Linked DNA regions of Homo sapiens: region 1 is linked to region 2. The links are contacts of gene promoters, found by promoter capture Hi-C in blood cells and fetal thymus (Javierre and others, 2016). All regions are on one chromosome and are shown on one strand. Each heading gives the region's core, a stretch centred on a gene start or on the middle of the fragment in contact. The rest is flanking DNA. Distances are from core to core; before and after follow the strand shown. Region 1 has its middle 11 kb from the start of SUB1. Region 2 holds the start of GOLPH3 (golgi phosphoprotein 3).

Region 1 (3,334 bases), core at 234-2,733, 400 kb before region 2:
CTTTCTCTGTCGCCCATGCTGGAGTGCATGCAGCAGTGTGATCTTGGCTCACTGCAACCTCTGCCTCCCCAGTTCAAGTGATTCTCCTGCCTCAGCCTCCCAAGTACCTGGGATTACAGGCACCTGCCACCACGCCTGGCTAATTTTTTTTTTTTTTTTGTATTTTTAGTAGAGATGGGGTTTCACCATGTTGGCCAGGCTGGTCTCGAACTCCTGACCTCAGGTGATCTGCCCGCCTTGGCCTCCCAAAGTGCTGGGATTACAGGCGTGAGCCACTGCGCCCAGCCATTTTTGTTTGTTTGTTTTCTTATTTACCAGGGATGCTGTTAAATAGGATAGTTTTCTAATAAAACTTGCCCATTTTAAACAATCTATATGAATTCACATTTCTTTAGGTCATTTATGTAATTTTTATTAATTCTTCAGTATTCTGACTAGGAGCTCACCTATAAAGCCAAATTAGAAGCCTTAATTCAATAGTGTAAATATCTTTGTGTCAATTCCACACAGAAAGCAGAGATTTTGTCCTCATAACATGTTATCAAGGAGTTAATGCTAAATCCAAGCAGAACCCGAGATGTGCAGAAAGGATGCTGCTATCCATGGTGATTTAAGGAGAAAGCAGGTAGAACTAGTAAATGTGTCTCAAAAGTGATTCTCCAAGAGGGACTGGGAGAGTCTTGCCTTGTGAAAAGACACTTAGAGAATGCATAGCCAGATCTCTGGGTCCTTTGGTGCAAAGTCCACTGGGCATTTACACTTCTGATTTAGAAAATCAATCAACTGCCAAACTTATCTACTATGTGCGATCACTGAGCTTGACTTTAGGAACAAAGAAATCCAAGGGGGAGTTGGCAGCATCTTCAGAGCACCTCCTATATTCCGGGCACTTATGCATGTCATCTCATTGTATTCACATTAAGCCTGGGAGAGAGGTGTTTTATTCCATTATAGAAAGGAAGAAACTGTACTCAGATTGGTGAAGGGAGTTACCTGAGTTAGTTGGTTGAATTGTAACCCCCCTCAAAAAATCTACCCAAGTCCTAACCCCAGTACCTGTGATTGTGACTACATTTGAAAATAGGGTCTTTGCAGATGTAATCACATTATGACAAAGTCATACTAAATTAGGATGGGCTTCAAATACAGTGACCTGTGTCTTTACCAGAGAAAGCAGAAAGACACTTGGATGCATCTTACAAGCCGAGGAACACCAAGGATTGCGGGCAGGCACCAGAAACTAGGCAGAGGCAAGGGAGGACTCTTCCCTAAAGCTTTCAGGAGGAGCATGGCCCTCCCGTTGCCTTGATTTTCGACTTCTACCCTCCAGAACTTTAAGATAATAAATTTCTGTTGATTGATTGATTGATTTTTTGAGACAGAATCTTGTTCTAGTCGCCCAGGCTGGAGTTCAGTGGCATGATCTCGCCTCACTGCAATCTCTGCCTCCTAGGTTCAAGCAGTCAGTTCTCCTGTCAGCCTCACAAGTAGCTGGGATTACAGGCGTCTGCCACCACACTTGGCTAATTTTTGCATTTTTAGTAGAGACAGGGTTTTACCATGTTGGCCAGGCTGGTCTCAAACTCCTGACCTCAAGTGATCCACCTACCTCAGCCTCCCAAAGTGCTGGAATTACAGGCATGAGCCACCATGCCTGGCCAAATTTCTGTTGATTTAAACTACGAAGCTTGTGACAATTTATTACAGTCTTAGGACACAAAGATACCAGTGTCACACAGCGGCTAAGTAGCAGTGCTGGAATTTGATCCCAGTTGTTTGCTTTGCAAATACCAAACATAACCCATATACCATGATATCAAGGGGGGATTTTGTTGCCACATGATTTCTGAACCTATTCAAGGCTGTCCTAGACATTATGAGCCAAGGAGAAGTGGTAAACTGCCTGAATTCAACCTAAGAGTTACAGATGCCCAAGCTGCATTCTCTCAGAGAACTGATACATGGGGAGCTGCATAGAGGCATGGAAAGGTTGCTAAAGAGCTGGGTCCAGAGACCTACAGTGATATTGACCATAACAGGGCAAGGGCAAGTCATTTTACCTCCCTGGGTCTCAGTTTCCTGTTCCCATCAGAGGTCAGGTTAAATATTCCATGGGATCCCAGACAACTGTGTAACCAGTTGGCTGGCCCACCCCAGACCTTTTTAAAAAACTTTTTGGACAGGCGCAGTGGCTCATGCCTGTAATCCCAGCACTTTGGGAGGCCGAGGTGGGTGGATCACAAGATCAGGAGTTCCAGACCAGCCTGCCCAACATAGTGAAACCCCATCTCCACTAAAAAAATATAAAAATTAGCCGGGCATGGTGGTGTGTGCCTGTAATCCCAGCTACTTGGGAGGCTGAGGCAGGAGAATTGCTTGAATCCGGGAGGCAGAGGTTGCAGTGAGTTGAGATCGCACTACTACACTCCAGCCTAGGCAACAGAGCAAGTCTCCGTCTCAAAAAAAAAAAAAATTCAATAGCTGTAAGGGTTCAGTGGTTTTTGGCTACACAGATGAATTGTATAGTGGTGAAGTCTGAGCTTTTAGTGTACCTGTCACCTGAATAATGTACATTGAACCCAATAGTGAAACATTTTAATTTCTACTTTTCTTTCTTTCTTTGGTCAGTAAGTTTTATTTTAATTTTTTTTTAATGTTTTGCCATTGGATTAGTTACATCTCCATTTAAATGTTTCTTCTTGTATCTATTCATTTTCAGGCATTAGAAGTTAAAATAATGGAAATAGGGCTGGGAATGGTGGCTCATGCCTGTAATCCCAGCACTTTGGGAGGCAGAGGAGAGTGGATCACTTGAGCCCAGGAGTTTGAGACCAGCCTGAGCAACAAAGTGAAACCCCCATCTCTACAAAAAATAGAAAAATTAGCCGGCCATGGTGGCATGTGCTTGTAGTCCCAACTACTCGGGAGGCTGAGGTGGGAGGATGACTTGAGCCAAGGAGGTCAAGGCCTGCAGTGAGCTGTAATTGCTCCACTGGCCAGCCTGGGCAACAGAGTGAGACCCTGTCTCAAAAAAAAAAAAAGAAAAAAGAAAGAAAAAAAAAAGGTAATATATTTCAGTGAAGTGCACAGTATTTCTTTCTCCTTCTTGACAGCGGCTCACACTTTTAATGAAGGACCCAAGCCAGCACAGTGCTCTCGTAGCCACAGCAGGTGTAAAAGAGAAGTTGACTGTTTCAAAGATAAAAACGATGAACCGTTCCCAAAATAAACATTAATCTTTTGAAACCATCAACCATGCAGAGTAATGCAAATACTAAATTGGGTTGTTTTCCAGGATGACTTTTCTTTAAGAATGTCAAATGGCAAAAAAAAA
Region 2 (3,218 bases), core at 679-3,178:
AGTAGCTGGGACTACAGGGGCCCGCCACCACGCCCGGCTAATTTTTTGTATTTTTAGTAGAGACGGGGTTTCACCGTGTTAGCCAGGATGGTCTCGATCTCCTGACCTCCTGATCCGTCCGCCTTGGCCTTCCAAAGTGCTAGGATTACAGGCGTGAGCCAACGCGCCCAGCCAATTTTTTTTTTTTTTTTTTGAGACAGGGTCTTGCTCTGTCTCTCAGGCTGGTGTGCAGTGGCACGATCACCCTCATGGCAGCCTCAAATTCTGGGCTCAAGCGGTTCTCCTGCCTCAGCCTCCCGAAGACCTGGGACTACAGATGTGGGCCACTACTCCTGATTAACTTTTTTCACATAATAAATTAATTACATTTATTTTACAAAGAAATATTTCAAGCTACAACATTTGGTAAAATCAGAAAAGATGAAGAAAAAAGGTCCAAAGAGGGTGTGGGCTGGCGCGGTGGCTCACGCCTGTAATCCCAGCACTTTGGGAGGCCAAGGCCGGCGGATCACGAGGTCAGGTGATCGAGACCATCCTGGCTAACACGGTGAAACCCCGTCTCCACTAAAAATACAAAAAATTAGCCAGGCGTGGTGGCGGGCGCCTGTAGTCCAGCTACTCAGGAGGCTGAGGCAGGAGAATGGCGTGAACCCGGGAGGCAGAGCTTGCAGTGAGCCGAGATTGTGCCACTGCACCCCAGCCTGGGCAACAGAGCAAGACTCCGTCTCAAAAAAAAAAAAAAAAAAAAAAAAAAGAGGGTGTGAATGGGAGAAATTGGTTGAGGTGAAATCGACCTTCACCAAGACAGGTGGGAAAAAGGGAAGGTCTACTTGGTGTGCCCCCTGGACCCTCTCTTCCCTTCATTTAGCACTGTCACTTTCCAGGGCATGGGATGGTAGGCAGCAGCAGTTCTGGATAATGGATTTGTGGAAGAGAAGAATCCATCTAAAGCACTCTTTAGCCACAGCCCATGATCACTTTTTTTAAAAAATTTTTATTTTTTGCTTTGCTGTTGTTCCACTCTGTCCATACATTGTTTAATACAGGATGGCACACAATACCATTCCTGGTTAAATGTTTCACTTAACAAGCGCCACCCTCTACTCCTCCAACTCCTGTCTCAGGTTTGACAGCTATTTTTTTAACCTAATTTGCGCACGCCAAGAGGATTTCACCTAGTAACTACACGGAGAGACATCCGATGCGTACAAAGACGTGGCATGAAACGCTGCAGGTTTATTGTCTCTATAAAAAGATCGTTAAGGTCGAGCGTGCTAACGTGTGCGGTACTAACTGTACTCACTACGCCCTGGTCACTTTATAGCACAAGTCCGAGGCAAGGAAAGAAGTTTTACAAACAAAACTGGTCAACTGTTCTATCTTCTTACTCCTGGAAAACAATAAAGGTCCACTTTCAAACCATTTGGACGCACTTGCTCCTTCTAAAGGGTTAGGGAGTCCCGGCAGATAGCGTACCCCTCCCCGCCCAGCAGCAGAGAGCAAAGTCCTTCCTGCCGATCCTGCAGACCCCGGAGTCCAAATGGGACCCCGTCCACACGACCGCGGAGTCGCCTCCGAAGACGGCGGTGTCTGGGGCGTGGAGGGCACGGCTGGAGGCTGAGTGGGGTCCACCTTCGCGTGGCCCAGGCTCTTCCATTCACGGGGGGCCCCGCCAGGTTCAGGCTCCAGCCCTGGGTAGTGAAGGGGAAACGGGGAACGGAAGGAGGGAGGGCACGTCACGGGAGCAGGACTGCAGGACCGCGGGTCAGGGGGCGCAGGAACGCCAAAGAAAAGACAAGCACCGAGGGCCGGGAAGGGTGTAGGCTGCAGTGGCAGCGGATCCCCGGCCGCCGCTTCCGGCGCCTCCCGGCCCAGCTCTCCCGCGCCGACTCTGCCACATCCTCCGGTGACGTCAGCCGGGGCCGCCATATTGGAAAGGCGCCGCCGCCGCCTCCGCCTTGGAGCTCGGGGTGTTTCGGGGACTGCGGCCACAGGCAGGAAGGCGCTCCTCTCCTGCCCCGCCGACGCCCGGCCAGCCCGCTTCGCCCTGACCTGTTTCCTCATGACTGCCCCCGGCCCTGCTGCCGACGGACGTCGCCCCGGCGTCCGGATTTAACACGGAAACCCGGATCGGAGGCCGCGCGGGGAGGAGGAGGGCGACCCGGTCGGTCCTGCGACCCTCTCGGCCCGGCTCGGCGCCTCGGCGGGAGCCATGACCTCGCTGACCCAGCGCAGCTCCGGCCTGGTGCAGCGGCGCACCGAGGCCTCCCGCAACGCCGCCGACAAGGAGCGGGCGGCGGGCGGCGGCGCCGGCAGCAGCGAGGACGACGCGCAGAGCCGCCGCGACGAGCAGGACGACGACGACAAGGGCGACTCCAAGGAAACGCGGCTGACCCTGATGGAGGAAGTGCTCCTGCTGGGCCTCAAGGACCGCGAGGTGCGGGCGCGGCGGGCTGGGCGGGGGGCGGCGGCGCGGGGCCCGGGCGCCAGGTGAGCTCCAGGTAGGTGCCAGGTGAGCGCCCGAGGCTTCCGGCCCGCGCACCTGCCCTCGCTCCGAAGTCCGCGCCTGGTGGCGCCCAGCTGACGCCGAGCGGTGTCGGAGTTGGTTGACCCCCTGGCGCGGCTGGTGCTTTCTGGATCCTCCCCGTAGAGATGGCTTGGATTTTTCCTTACCCCTTTCACAGTCGCTCCTTTCATTTCGACACCCTGGCAGTTTGTATTTCTTCGTCGCCTTTTTTCCGCGTTTTTAACCCGTGTAGACCCCAGGGTGCAAATCCAACCCGGAGACTGCCCGGGAAACTAACAGCTGGAGCCACCAGCGCCACGAACTCTTTGGGTTTTTGCAGGCTTTAGGACCTGGGAGGGGTGCCCGGATCTGCTTGCTGGGGATGTTTTTTTTTTCTTCTTCTTCAGTTAAAGCTTACTGTTGGGAATTACGAAAAACGTAGGCGAAGTGGTAATAGAGGGAAAAGCTCTTTTACTGAGTAAAGTTAAGTTAAGTTTCTCATGAAACCTCCTGGTAAATGACTTTCTAGGTGAACTTACATTAGGTGAGAGATTATTTTTAGTATCGCTTTTATATTTTATCAGTTGATGAATCTCAAAGTCTTGCCGTCTTAAGAAAGGGCTTTTTCATCGAGTGCTTGAAATGTAGGTTTGTGAGTTGATCAGAGGCCTCAAAGCTTCAGGTGGGTTGAAGTTGCAATAGATAATTCTTT

Evidence for each region. The method cuts DNA at HindIII sites, captures the fragments that hold promoters and counts their contacts. A CHiCAGO score of 5 or more calls a contact.
Region 1: a fragment that was not itself captured here is called in contact with the fragment with the promoter of GOLPH3 in region 2 in 2 of 17 cell types (naive CD8 T cells and total CD8 T cells); the score reaches 5.5 in naive CD8 T cells.

The regions. Positions count from the first base shown.
Region 1 is chr5:32,573,281-32,576,614 of GRCh38, reverse strand. No RefSeq gene overlaps it. Among named protein-coding and RNA genes, the nearest start is that of SUB1, 11 kb to the left of the region's middle. RefSeq lists a silencer at 1-89 and an enhancer at 3,015-3,074. The HindIII fragment of the contact is 413 bases long and covers 1,277-1,689 here.
Region 2 is chr5:32,173,029-32,176,246 of GRCh38, reverse strand. It overlaps GOLPH3 (golgi phosphoprotein 3), which reads left to right and starts at 1,928. Exons shown (of 4, transcript NM_022130.4): 1 at 1,928-2,437. The coding sequence starts at 2,213. RefSeq lists a silencer at 2,035-2,644. The HindIII fragment of the contact is 5,568 bases long and covers 1-2,921 here.